Linked DNA regions of Homo sapiens: regions 2, 3 and 4 are each linked to region 1. Evidence: promoter capture Hi-C in 16 types of primary human blood cells and fetal thymus (Javierre and others, 2016). All regions are on one chromosome and are shown on one strand. The core of a region is centred on a gene start or on the middle of the fragment in contact, and the rest is flanking DNA. Distances in the headings are between cores, read along the strand shown.

Region 1 (3,442 bases), core at 552-3,051:
TTGTTCCATACCACTTATGTTGGCTAAAAGAGCACTTTTTACAAATATAGATGCCTAGGAAACAACTGGTAGGAATTACATCAAAATATTAACAAAGAATACAACTGGGTGTAGACTGGGGGGTTCTTTATACTTTACTGTATTTTCCAAAGTCTCTACAGCAGTGTTTCTCACACTTTAATAGGTAAACAAATCACCCAGTATGCTCGTTAAAATGCAGCTTCTGGGTTAGTAGGTGTGGGATTTTCAGATTCTGCATTTCTGATAGGTTCTCCTGTGATGCTGATGATATTGGCCCAAGGTCTACATTTTGAGTAGGAAGGTTTTAAAGCAGCATATCTGAACCAATATACTGGTTAACTGAGACCCACCCTCAGAGTTTCTGATTTCTTAAGTCTGGAGTAGGATCCTAGGATTTGCATTTCTAACTGTTTCCCAGGTGATGCTGACACTGCAGGTCTGGGGCCAGCACTCTGACAACCGGTGCTCTAGAATCTTTCTTTTTCTTAACATTAAGGAAGGGAGGGCACTAAAAAATATGTCAGGCTTCTCCATTGACTCCAAAATCAAATCCAAACTCTTCATCCAAAAGCCCCCATAATCCAACCCCGTCATTTCCCACTACTTCTCATTAGGCTATAAAATCAAACCACTATGCCCTAAACACACCTGAGATTTCAAACATCAGGACTTCCGCTGGATTTCCTCACTCCGGCTATGCCACTTCCTTCTACTTCTTCATGCCAAATCCTACCCAGCCTTCAAGGTCCTCAAATGCTATTTCCTCCATAAAGCCTCCTGATCTACCACTACTCAAAAAGCTACCTCTCCCTCCCCCCCTCAGGGCTGCACAGCACTTTTCGTTCCTCCCCAATGACAGGCACCATCTGTACCTGGTCCAGCGACTCTACCGGTGGGTGGTGTATCTTCGCCTGTAGACTGGGAGTTTCTTGAGGTCAGGGGAGTGACTTGCCTATCTTTGCCTCTTAGCCTTAGCAGATCCCCAGTAGACAGCTGACACTCAGAACCGACCAAAAGAAGGAAGGAATGGGACCTCCTGAGGAAGGGCACAGAACTGTCCTGTAAATGGAAACTAGACCGGACGCACGCCAAGCCGATGACCCACAGTAACAGGTGTTCTCCATCTCTGATGTCTGTGATTCATCCTGCACAGCTGCGCGCACACAGCACACGCATACACAGGCTCCCAGAATACGGCGCCCCACACGCTGTACCGCCCGTCGCGTTCTGGACGCCCCGGCGACCACACACACCGAGACACACCTCAGCGACAACCTGGATCCACAAAAAGGAGGCCCTGCCCCCTTAAAAAATACTAACACCTTACTGCAAAGAACTAGCAGCTACGGCTTGCGCCTGCGCCCCTTGTTCCCTGCCGCACCTTTTCTTGTAGTTAAGAAATCTATTTCTGCACGCATTTCGTCGCCGCCGCCCCCCATCCCTACACGCACGCACACACACACACACACACGCACACACACACACTCCCCTTCCCCTACACCTACCCCCCTCCCCCCACCTCCTTTCAGACTAGGCGCGCCTCGCAGAGCGGGATTGAATGGGAAAGAGCGGGGCCGTCTTTGTCATTAATCCTCCCCTCCTTCGGGCAAGCCAAGCTTCTTCCGGGTCAGCGACCATCCCCGCCACCCCACTCGGGGCCACGGTCCCCCCGCAGCGCTAGTCCCGGGCCCGCGAGCACCGGCCCCCGCCACCCGCAGGTTGCGGAGGGAGGAGGGCGGGAGCGGGCGGCGCGGAGCCGGGAGGCGGGGGAGGGGCCGGCGTCCGAGGCGGCGGCGGCGGCGGCTGGAGCAGCCTCTGGCAGCAGCGGGGAGAATGGGAGTGCGGGGCGCCAGACCGCCGCGGGGTGTCACGGCCGCCACGAAGCCTGCGAGGCGCGGGGCCGGCGCCCGCGGCTTTTAAACCCGGGAAGGCGCGGCGGCGGCGGCGGCGGCGGGCAGATCGCGGCGCGCACCAGGCGCCGGGGCGGCGGCCGAATGGAGAGAAAGGGCTCGGCGGCCGGGGCCAAGGGGAACCCGAGCCCGCCCGCGGCCGGAGAGGGGCAGCGGCCACCGCCGCCGCTGTGCGTCCCGGGCGGCGGCGGAGGAGCCCCAGCGAGGGGCCAGGTCGGGGCGGCGGCCGAGCCGGCCGAGCTCATCCGACGAGCGCACGAGTTCAAAAGCCAAGGGGCGCAGTGCTACAAGGACAAGAAATTCCGTGAAGCCATAGGCAAATACCACCGGGCGTTGCTGGAGCTGAAGGGGCTGCTGCCGCCCCCCGGGGAACGGGAGCGGGACTCGCGCCCGGCCTCCCCGGCTGGGGCCCTGAAGCCCGGCCGCCTCTCGGAGGAGCAGAGCAAGACGGTGGAAGCCATCGAGATCGACTGTTACAACAGCCTGGCAGGTGAGCCGCGCCGCGCCCCCCGCGCCGCGGTCCCCGTTCTTCGGCCCGGTCCCTCCGCGGACCACTGCGGCGCTCCCGCGGTGCAGATTCTCCTGCTGTGACTGTGTTGCTCTGGGGAGAACCCGGGAGGGAGGCGCTTTGGAAAAAGTGTGACTTTCAGGATTATGCCTTTCAAAGGCCATAATCATCTCTTGTCCCTTCGCTAGCATACATCGTAAATCTCACCTAGAAATGACTGGAAGGGGACCCAGCTGGCCTGGCTATGGCTGCTGCTGCTACTGCTCACCAGTGGACCTGGGTCCAAAATGCGGAAGCAGCGCCCGGGGTGGGCCCCCGCAGCCACCGCTAGCCCAGCTTTTTCCTGCGGGTGGGTCCCAAGGGAGGCCACGCACCTGTCTGCTCTCCTTAGGTAGCATGAGCACCAGGATTGGTCCTCGCCTTTTCCCCAACTAACCGCATCCCTGTAGGTAAGATCTTCCCCAAGTTTTTTGGCCCCAGTAGCAAAGGGGAGTTTGACACCATGCCTTCAGCATCTTGAGCAAAATGGATTCCAGAATGCCACTTTCTTCTCTCTGAGCTCTGCTGGGGCTCCCGGTTGCCAGGTGAAGATCTCTATCTCAAAAGAAGCTTGGTTCATGGTTGGGCTTGAACTATGCTGCATTCTCCCTCTCCTCCCTGCCCGTTTCTCACTATGTGTAGCATCAGTCCTCACGCCAGCTGGCTGCTAGGGGTGAAGGAAAAGGGGGCCCTACTCTTGGGCAAAGAAGGTGTACATTCCAACATTCCCTTTGGGGATAAGAGCCAAAATCAGGGATTTAAAAATTGTTTAATTTAGGCGCAGGAATATTTAAAGTCTCTTAAAAAAAGAAGAGTCTGGCTCTTGCTAGGGCCTTCCTGGGAGAAGGTGGGAGAGGTTGGCAAAGGCAACTTAAAAAGCATTCTCTCCTCTTCTCTTGCCCCATTTGGTGAGATTCTGGCATGGTCAACCTTCTCCGACCAAACAAAGGGCAGTTCCTCCTAG
Region 2 (3,442 bases), core at 369-2,868, 250 kb after region 1:
TTTTTAAAGGATTAGCAAGAGAAAGCGCACAATCTAGAACAAATGAGATATCAACAAGAGTCACTGAAAAGGGACCTACGGACAGGCTGTTAGGGACTTGATCTTCAGGAATAAGACTGGCTACTAGAATCAAAGAAAAGGTTTGTGTAGGTCCAGTAGCAAGGCTGATTTGATGCTATCATGCTGAGAAACTCATACTCTGCTTTTCATTTTTGCGTTTTTAGTACCTCTAAAGCTTTTTACATTCTCCCCAACTATAGAGATACTCTAGGGCCTAAGTTGATCCTAGCCGGGCTAATCACCAAATCACAGAATTTGGCAGATGATTTCAAGAAGTTTAAAATGAGTCCCGTCCTCAAAGTGTTTATAATCTATTTGAGAAGAAAAGGTCAGCACACATGAGACAGAAATATGTCTACTGTGTCCATTTACTGTGTTATGTACAAGTCATAGGTATTAAGAAAAATAAAAATTAGTAAGTGCTGGAGAGGTCAAGGAAGGCTTCACCGAAGAGGGATGATTTGAGGGTTTAAATTTTTTCTGAGACAGGGTTTCACTCCATCGCCCAAGCTGTAATGCAGTGGTGTAATCACGGTTCACTGCAGCCTTGACCTCTCAAGATCAGTTGATCCTCCCGCCTCAGCCTCCTGGGTAGCCCCAGCTGGGATTGCAGATGCACACCACCATGCCCAGTTCATTTTTTATATTTTTTGTAGAGACAGGGTTTTGCCATGTTGCCCAGGCTGGTCTCGAACTCCTGAGCCCAAGGGATCTGCCCACCTGAACCTCTCAAAATGTTGGGATTACAGGCATTAGCCGCTGCACCTGGCCTGGCTTGAAGTTTTTTAAGTGAAGAAAAGCAGAATTGGGGCCCTGGGGGTGGGAGATGTTCATGGGGGTGGAGAGAAGAGAGTCAGAAATATCCTGAGATATTTTTCTCATCATTTTTACCCCAACAGGAATAGTTGAGCCTCTCAGTTCTGCAGGGGAAGCTGGTAGTGGAGCCACTAGTGAGCACTTATAAAGTAGATGATAAAGAAAGGAAGTGGAGTTTGCTTGATAAGAGAAGAACATGATTAGAATGGTTGTGTTGGTAGCTCCTGGACTCTTTCTCTGCGGCTATTTCAGTCCCCTAGCTAATCTGGCCCTGACTTATAGTAGTGCCAACTTCAAGCCTTCAGGGCATTTTATACAGCTTCCTGTCTATGCTTCCCACCCTTATCACTCCCTCCCCTTGTTTTCCTTCCATTTTTTTAAATGACTATTATTGAATCAAATTTTCCTATTAATTAAAACCCTTGGGATCTTGGAACCTTAGTCAACTTTCCCCTCGTATATGACATAATGATGTACATTGTGTTTCAATGGCTCTGGACACCATCGCTGATAGAATAGGTCACCTGTTTAGCGTAGTCAGGATGAATGTTGCCATCAAGATGACTGCTCTATATTGAAGAGTCTGAGTCAACTCAGCATATCCAACTATCTTCGTGACTTTTTTTTTTAAAAGAGTTTTAATGTATTCCTTTAGTACTGGCAGTTGCTTTTCCCAGTCTGCTGCTGCTGAAGAAATTCCTAATGGTTAATGTCAGATCCCAGGATACTGGCCTATAATGCTGAGAAAGGAAATAGTGTCAGAGAATCTTGGTTTTTAGCTGCTGTTTTACTCTGCAGGAGCAGAGAGAAATAGGAGCAGGGGTAATTTCTTTCCTTTAGCAGCTGCTGAAGTAGACCTGATATTTGGGTTGGAAAAGTATATCAACTCACCTCAATTTAGAGAAATTATTTTTTAACCTTAAGAAATTAACGTATGTATTGCATCACTGAGGAGGCTCTTCTGTGGGCTTGTAGCAGGAAAAATCTAGACACTCTATGGGGCTATGCTACAGACATGGTGGCCCATGCAAGGAACTGGCAGCTGTGGGAGACAATGACAATGATTGACACTTGCCTGGCAATTTACAGCATACTGTTTCAAACCTGATTTAATTCTCTCAGTAAGCCTGAGATAAAGGGGTCATTTTATGCATTCCACAGATGAGGAAATAGACTTGCTTTCTTAAGCAACAGGTAGTGAGTTACAATCCAGAAATGAACACAGTCTCTCTGAATCCCAATCCTACACCCTTCCCAGTAAACAGGTTCTATTCCACTGTATGGCATTCAGTTGTGAGACGTTTCACACAAGAATTCGTCATTAACAAAAGAATTATATTTGATGGTGATAATTTAGAATCATAAGTCAAGAGTCTCTCATTTTCTTGTATTGAAGTGCATTTTTTTTTTTTTTTGAGATGGAGTCTTGCTCTGTTGCCCAGGCTGGAGTGCAGTGGCACGATCTCGGCTCACTGCAACCTCCACCTCCCAGGTTCAAGTGATACTTTTGCCTCAGCTCCCCCTCAGAACTGGTAGCTGGGATTACAGGCATGCACCACCAAGCCTGGCTGATTTTTGTATGTTCAGTAGAGATGGGGATTTGCCATGTTGGCCAGGCTGGTCTTGAACTCCTGATCTCAGGGGATCCACCTGCCTCGGCCTCCGAAAGTGCTTAGATTACAGGTGAGAGCCACCGCGCCTGGCCTGAAGTGCATTTTTTGAGCAGAAAGAATAGGTCAAATTGCAGCAAGCTATCTGGGGAATCACACACATCAGTTATATCTGTGCAGTAGCACTAAAAGACCATGGCTGGTGGAGATAATAATAGTTTTTGTGATTATAAGTTATTGCCTTGCTTTCCTCCCTGGAAAATACTGGGTTTCACCAAAGTTTGAATCTGAGTTTTCCTATGACAGTGTGCCTGCTTGTGTGAATATCATCCATTTTGAGTATCTCCAAAAGACATCAGTGGAGAATGTGGCTCATCGTGCAGCCTTCCTGATAGATCTGACTATGGTAGTGCACATACTACATTTAAGCCCTGCTGTGTATCAAAGCTGGGTACTCAACCCTAACACATACCCTTCACTTATAATGAAACTTCTAATGGACTCTTGCTTATAGGGAAAGCTTGTATAACCAACTCTCAATTTTTATGTGTATGTAAGGTCAAAACTGCAGTGTTCTGTTAATGGTGATACCACTACAATGTCTGTAGATATAGGCAATAGAAAACTGAAGCACTCTTATGACACAAATACAGTGTAAACATTCTTGAAAAACTGGGAATTTGCTGCAGCATCACTCCTAGCCACTCCCCAGAAATTTGGAGGTTGGACAACCTAGTGTGATAGTAGAAACACTTGAAATGTTTGGGAGTCATTTTTACACAAACTTGTGCTGTTGCTTTTTTTTAAGGTTAAAAAAGGCATGTTTTGATGCAAGAACACAGGATATGAGTTCGCACTAAATAAAGATCTACATCTACACAATAGGTTTCAATGACGGGGAGGAGAAGAGATTTTTATCTTCCATGAGATACTCAGCAGTATCCGGAGACCTTCTT
Region 3 (3,442 bases), core at 249-2,748, 230 kb after region 1:
CCTCTGGGTCACAGGTTTCATCCTAGACCAGCACTCCAGTCTTTCAGCCTTCAGGCTATTTTAGGCTTGAAAGTGAGGTTTTAGCCTAGGGACTCTTCCCTATCTGCCTAGGAATTTGTCTCCTGCCTTCATCAGTAGTACATATTACATATATGTAACTAAAAACAAAAGAAATAATTCTGTATAGTACATACATGCAATACATATATATGTACAATACAGAATATATGTACTATAGAATATATGTATAGTACATATATTCAGTATAGTTCATACTACACTACATACATGCTATATTATATGTATAGTATATTTCTGTCCATATATATACTATAAATGTACTATATATTCTGTATAGCACATACATATAGTACCCATATGTACTATATGTATATATTATGTATGTTATATATAATATGTATTGTATATAGGCATATGCTATGGGAAGGGGGGCAGGGAAGTGCTGGGTAGAGAAGGGGGGGGTCCCTGATGAGGGCTCCATCCTCGAGCCTGTGCCCACGGACCTAAATGAGGACAGATGTTTCTGTTTTCACACCCAAAATGTTGCCTTTTGGGCCACCACACCCCCCACATCCTGTGCCCATAAAAACCTGAGACCCCAGCGGGCACACACACAAGCAGCTGGACATTGAGAGAAGCAGAAGACAGACACCAGCAGACACCAGCAGGCCATTGAAGGCAGAACGACATGACACCAAGAGGAATTCGGCCAGGGTGGTTGGAGGAAAGTCTAGCTGCTGGATGGCCCAAGTCCAGGGAAGACCACTTTCCCACTCCATCCTTTTTCTTGCTCCCCATCCATCTCACTGAGAGCTACTTCCACCACTCAATAAAACCTTGCACTCATTCTCCAAGTCCACATGTGATCCGATTTTTCCAGTACACTAGAGCAAGAACCCAGGCTACAGAAACCCTTTGTCCTTGTGATAGGGCAAAGGGTCTAATTGAGCTGATTAACACAAGCCACCAGCAGATGGCAAAGCTGAAAGAATATACTGTAACACACTCCCGCTGGGGCTTCGGGAGCTGCAAACCCTCAACCCTAGACTCTGCTGTGGGTCAGAGCCCAAAAATGCTCTCCATGACCCACCCGTCTGCATGCTCCCCTAGGGTTTGAGAAGTAGGGCCCTGAAGAGGCAAGCCACACCCCTGTCACATACCCTGTGAAGGTGATAAGGGAACTCCACCCATTTCACATATAGTAAACATATATGTACCATATTTTAATTATATACATTAATCATAATTTTAACTCTTAGTAACATTAATTTCCAGTGAACAATCAAGGAAGTAATCCATTTTAAACTGTTTTATATCAGTATTTGTAGATGAAAGCCATTTCCTAATTTTTAGAAAGAAATGTTTCCTCAATTTTTTATGTTTCTTCTTATTTATTTATCCATTTATTTATTTTGAGATAGAGTCTTGCTCTGTCATCCAGGCTGGAGTGCGGTGGCATGATCTCAGCTCACTGCAACTTCTGCCTCCTGGGTTCAAGCAATTCTCCTGTCTCCGCCTCCCAAGTAGCTGGAATTGCAGGCGCACACCACCATGCCCGCCTAATTTTTGTATTTTTAGTAGAGATGGCGTTTCGCCATGTTGGCCAGGTTGGTCTCAAACTCCTGACCTCAGGTGATCTGCCCGCCTTGGCCTCCCAAAGTGCTGGGATTACAGGCATGAGCCACCACGCCCAGCCAGATTTTTATGTTTCTTAATAGATCCAAATATATTTAACTTCTATATACTGTATTAAAAACAAGATGTTGAAGTATATAAACTAAAGCTATGCTTAATAATTAATGTTTCAGTATTTTATTGAATTTAAAATGAATTGAAAATAAAGTAATTTTCAATTACTTAATTTAACATGATTTTAAAATTTGAAGTTGCTGAAAAAGATTTTGGAAACTATGATAAATTTATTTATAAATTTTGATGCCATTTACATTCACCTTATTTACTCATTCTTTACAATTATGCTTGAATTACTTATTAAACAAAACTAGCCATTGAAGAAGTATAACTGCTCAACAGGTTCACATTGCCAGCTGCCTAGACAGAGCTAATTTATCAAGACAGGGGAATTAGAATGGAGAAAGAGTAATTCATGTAGAGCCGGCTGTGCGGGAGATGGAGTTTTATTATTACTCAAATCAGTCTCCTCGAGCATTTGGGAATCAGAGTTTTTAAAAATAATTTGGCGGGTAGGGGCTCGGGAAGTAGGGAGTGCTGATTGGTCAGGTTGGAGATGGAATCATAGAGGAGTCAAGTGAGTTTTCTTGCTTGTTGTCTTCTGTTCCTGGATGGGATCATAGAATTGGTGGAACCAGATTACCAGTCTGGGTGGAGTCAGTTGATCCATGGAGTGCAGGGTCTGCAAAATATCTCAAGCATTGATCTTAGGTTTTCCAATAGTTATATTTTCCCCAGGAGCAATTTTGGGAGGTTAAGAATCTTGCAGCTGGAGGCTGTGTGGTCACTAAACCACAATTTCTAATCTTGTAGCTAATTTGTTAGTCCTATAAAGGCAGACCGGTCCCCAGACAAGAAGGGTTTTTTTTTTTTTTTTTTTGGAAAAGGGCTATTATCAATTTTGTTTCAGAGTTAAACTATAAACTAAATTCCTTCTGAAGGTTAGTTCAGCCTACGCCCAGGAATGAACAAGGACAACTTAAAGGTTGAAAGCAAGATGGAGTCAGTTAGGTCTGATCTCTTTCACTGTCATAATTTCCTCAGGTATGATTTTGGCAAAGGCGGTTTCAGAAGTTCGGAAGATATGACCCCAAAATATGTTGCTTTTGTATACTATTGCTGCTAACAGGTACTCAGAGCAAGGCTTTAAAAATTCTCCTTGTTTGTCTAAAGACAGATTTTCCAAAGGAATCCAAATGCCATCAATCCTGTTGTTACAGGAAAGGGGTCCTGATCCAGACCCCAAAAGAGGGTTCTTGGATCTCGTGCAAGAAAGAATTCAGGGCAAGTCAATAAGGTGAAAGCAAGTTTATTAGGGAAACAAAGGAACAAAAGAATGGCTATTCCATAGAAATGCATGGTTTTATGGTTATTTCTTGTTTATATGCTAAACAAGGGGTGGATTATTCATGCCTCCCCTTTTTAGACCATATAGGGTAACTTCCTGATGTTGCCATGGCATTTTTAAACCGTCATGGCGCTGGTGGGAGTGTAGCAGTGAGGACAACCAGACGTCACTCTCATCACCATCTCGATTTTGGTGGGTTTTGGCCGGCTTCTTTACTGTAACCTGTTTTATCAGCAAGATCTTTATGAGTTGTACCTTGTGCCGACCTCCTATCTCATCCTGTGACTTAGAATGCCTTAACTGTCTGGGAATGCAGCCCAGTAGGTTTCAGCCTCATTTTACCCAGCCCCTATTCAAGACCTCATTTTACCCAGCCCCTAT
Region 4 (3,442 bases), core at 704-3,203, 180 kb after region 1:
GGATGGCAGAGTGACTGACAGCTTATTGAGTACTAGGCAGTAGGTTGGGCACTGATAGACATACCCTCCATTAGTATACGAAGACGAAGCCACCGACCTACCAACTGTACCACTCACTGTAATCACAGCCAACATTTATATACTATTTTAGAGTTCAGAAAACACTTTTACAGACAGGTGCCAGTATACTGACTAAGAGTACATACAGACTCTGAGGCCAGGCACAGTGACCCATGCCTATAATCCCAATGCTTTGGGAGGCAAAACCGGAGGATCACTTGAGGACAGAAGTTCAAGACCAACCTGGGCCACAAAGTGAGTCCCTCCCTGTCTCTACAAAAAATTAAAAACTTTGCCAGATATAGTGGTGCACACCTGTGGTCCCAGCTACCAGGAATTCAAGGTTACAGTGAGCTATGGCACCACTGCGCCACTGCACTTCAGCCTGGGAGAGGGAGTAAGACCTTGTCTATTAAAAAAAAAATACAGACTCTGGAACCAGGTTGCCTGAGTTGAATCTCAGTTCTGTCCAGTTCTGCCATGACTCACTGTGTGGTCTAGGACAATTTACTTAGCCTCTCTGTTAAGTCTTGGTTTCTTCAAGTGCAAAATGGAGATTTTAAATAATCCTAACTACCTCCTAAACTAGCTTAGAGATTAACTGAGATAATACGGAGGCAGCCCTAAGAGCAGTGCCTAGAACATAGTGAGCCCTCAATAAAGGCAGAAGGGATCGTACTACCTGGTTGGGACTTTTTAGCCAATTTTACTAATAAGGAAACGGAAGCCCAGGGAGTTTATTCAGTGTGGCTAAGTACTAAGGAACAGTACTAAGGAACAGAAGCCCAAGACCCAATCAGGGGTTCCTGCTTCTGACTCCAAAGCTTTTCCCACTCAGAATCCACTTCCTTAGGGAGTGTGGGTTTTATGTTAAAACAAGCCAAACTTTCGCACCGGCTCTTCTGGTGTCTCCTAGCTTTGCTTCTGAGAAAGGACAGCTGAGGTTGGAGGGAATAACAGCAAAAATAATTGACATTCTTGGGTCCATCGGTCGGTGTGCCGGGCCTGTGCCAAGGACTTCACCTGCCCTTCCCATTCAATATTCACCAAAAAACCTATGTGCTAGGTACTTTGAATAACCACTTTATATAAAAAGTGGGGTGCAGAGCCACTAAGCAAGCAGGGGTGGCGTGTGTCGGAGCCAGAATCCATTATCGGCTCTCTGATCAGTTTACCCCCAGGAGGACCTTTCCCCGACCCCCTACCCCGCCGGGAGCAGCCTATCTTCGTGCAAAATGCACCGAGCTACATACAGAGGCTGCCTTCCAGGACTCAGCGCGGAGGGTTAGGCTGCCTCGAACCCCATTCTGGTAACTCCATCCCAGCTGGGACGCCGGGCCCTCTCCGCCCCTTGCGGCCCACCCCTCCCCTTCTGCCCCCCAACACGGGGACCGGGCGGGCTCTCGGTCGGCGCCACCGCGCCCCCGCATCAGGATCCTCGGCGCTGACGTTCTCTCCCCAGGGGGAGGAGGGGCCCAGGAAGGGTTAGGTCCGCAGCCAGTGCGGAGAAAGGGCCCTGGGCTCGGCTCCCACGCTCGGGCAGGCCTCCCGCCGGGGGATCGGAGCTGCGGTCACTCGCGGCTTCGGGGCCGTGGCGTCCCGCGCACAGCTTCCGCGCCTCTGCAAGGCGGTGAGTCGTTTCTTCCCGGCACAGGAGGGACAGTTTCCCCACGTGGACGCGGGGCTGGCAGCGGGAGGGGCAATAGCGCTGGCGGAGCTTAGGGTTTCGCGGGAGCAACCAGCGCGCGCCTCTCTCTCTCCCCTCCCCTCGCTCGCGCTCGCTCTCCCCCGCCCTCTGTCTCTCCCCTCTCTCTCTCTCGCTTTCCCCCCACTCTCTTGCTTTCCCCCTTCTCTCTCTCTTCCCCTCTCCTCTCGCTCGCTCCTCGTCTCCCCTGGCTCTCTCGCTCTCCCCTCTCCCCGTCTCCCCACGCTCTGTCTCGCTCTCCCCCGTCTCTCTCCCTCCCCCTCTCCTCCCGCTCTCTCTCGCTCTCCTCTCTCTTCTCCCCGACCCCCTTGCGTTCTCTCTTTTTCTCTCTTCCCTCGCTCTCCCCTCCCCTGCCCCGTCCCTCTCCTCTCCCCTCTCCCCACATCTCTCTCGTTCGCCCCTCTCTCCCCTCTTCGCCCTCTCTCTCTCCTTCCTTCTTCCCACCCTCTCTTCCTCCGTCTCTCCCTCCCCGCCTCCTTTCCTCCTTCCCTTCACCCCCACTTTCCTTCTTCCCTCCTCCTCTCCTCCTCCCCTCCTCCCCTCCTTCCTTCCTCCCCTCCTCCCTTCCTCCGCCCCCTCCTCTTACAGGGAAGGATGCCCTCGGTTTCGCTGCGCTCTCCCAGGAGCGAACTCCCGCAGCCGCTCAGGCCAGCGCCAGAGACCTTGTCCCTACCAAGGCGGGCCGCGCCCCTTGGTGGGCTGGGCTCAGGGAGCGCGCTTTGCACGCTTCAGATGTCTTTGTGGGAAGCCTGGGAGTAGCTAGGTGTGAATGTGCTGCCCTTAATTTAAGCCACCAGTTGTAAATATGTGTTCTAGTGCATATTAATAACTCTCCCTCGACCCACTCGCCTCCTGCCACTCCAGTTGCTCCAACAGGGACCCCCTCTTCCCTTCCCTCGGGCCAGCAGCTCTTCCTGTACAGGAGAAGCGATCTGGGTAGCTCAGGAGCTGCCTGTAGGTCTGCGTATGGCCTGTTTCTCTTTCTTCCCCTCTGTCCCACACTCTCCGCTCACTCCTGTCTCCCTGCTGTCACTCTGCAGCTATGACACTAGATCACTAATAAGGGTAGGTGAGAAGGAAAGGGAAGAGGAAAAGAAAATAACAGCCATTTATTCTGATAAACCCTCAACATGTGACACCTGGGTTCCTTCCAGGCATTTGCTGTGAAAATAGGTGGTCCTGGTTCTCAGTAGTCCCAAAGCCTCTAGTCCGGATGGGGGTAGAATTGCCGCAGATGCGGAATCCACTAACAGTCGAGGAAGCTTATCTTCCTGGAAGCCTTCAGCCTCCCACTCCCACCTCTGCCCCATTCTGTTTGCTTCCTCCCTGTCTCAGCTTCTGCTTCTCTCCTTTTTATAACCTGCTGCTAAGAAAAGTCTGAAAACTTGAATTATAAATACATAATATATCAAGTATTGCCTGAAATAGAGATTTGAAACCTAAAAGGGAGGAAAGAAAAGAAGCATCTTGAATTCTAGGAGAAGCAGTCCTGGGTGCCGCGTCCCCAAGGACTGGCTGCAGCTTCTCTCGGCCGCGGTTGCCTCATTTATAACATGGGGATACCCATCCATACCAACCATGGTGCAGGGGATTGCACCAGATCATTCTCACATCTCTTCCAGCTCTGAAGAAATGGAGGTGAACAGAGGAACAGCCACTCCCAGCAAGCAAGGGAAG

Evidence for each region. Contacts are between HindIII fragments. The CHiCAGO score rates a contact against its expected background, and 5 or more counts as called.
Region 2: a fragment that was not itself captured here is called in contact with the fragment with the promoter of TTC9 in region 1 in 1 of 17 cell types (non-activated CD4 T cells); the score reaches 5.2 in non-activated CD4 T cells.
Region 3: a contact is called between a fragment that was not itself captured here and the fragment with the promoter of TTC9 in region 1, in 1 of 17 cell types (total CD4 T cells). The highest score is 5.1, in total CD4 T cells.
Region 4: a fragment that was not itself captured here is called in contact with the fragment with the promoter of TTC9 in region 1 in 7 of 17 cell types (total B cells, naive CD4 T cells, activated CD4 T cells and 4 more); the score reaches 7.7 in total B cells.

Annotation. Positions count from the first base shown.
Region 1 is chr14:70,640,115-70,643,556 of GRCh38, forward strand. TTC9 (tetratricopeptide repeat domain 9) reads left to right here and starts at 1,802. Exons shown (of 3, transcript NM_015351.2): 1 at 1,802-2,421. The coding sequence starts at 2,016. TTC9-DT (TTC9 divergent transcript) reads right to left here and starts at 1,184. Exons shown (of 3, transcript NR_110071.1): 1 at 894-1,184. RefSeq lists enhancers at 697-876, 977-1,236 and silencers at 1,707-1,856, 2,077-2,266, 2,287-2,356. The HindIII fragment of the contact is 1,411 bases long and covers 1,636-3,046 here.
Region 2 is chr14:70,889,890-70,893,331 of GRCh38, forward strand. No RefSeq gene overlaps it. Among named protein-coding and RNA genes, the nearest start is that of PCNX1, 16 kb to the right of the region's middle. The HindIII fragment of the contact is 2,771 bases long and covers 234-3,004 here.
Region 3 is chr14:70,872,776-70,876,217 of GRCh38, forward strand. No RefSeq gene overlaps it. Among named protein-coding and RNA genes, the nearest start is that of PCNX1, 33 kb to the right of the region's middle. The HindIII fragment of the contact is 8,273 bases long and covers 1-3,442 here.
Region 4 is chr14:70,820,433-70,823,874 of GRCh38, forward strand. It overlaps LOC124903341 (a long non-coding RNA gene), which reads left to right and starts at 1,441. Exons shown (of 2, transcript XR_007064246.1): 1 at 1,441-1,690; 2 at 3,388-3,442. RefSeq lists a silencer at 1,361-1,560. The HindIII fragment of the contact is 2,143 bases long and covers 883-3,025 here.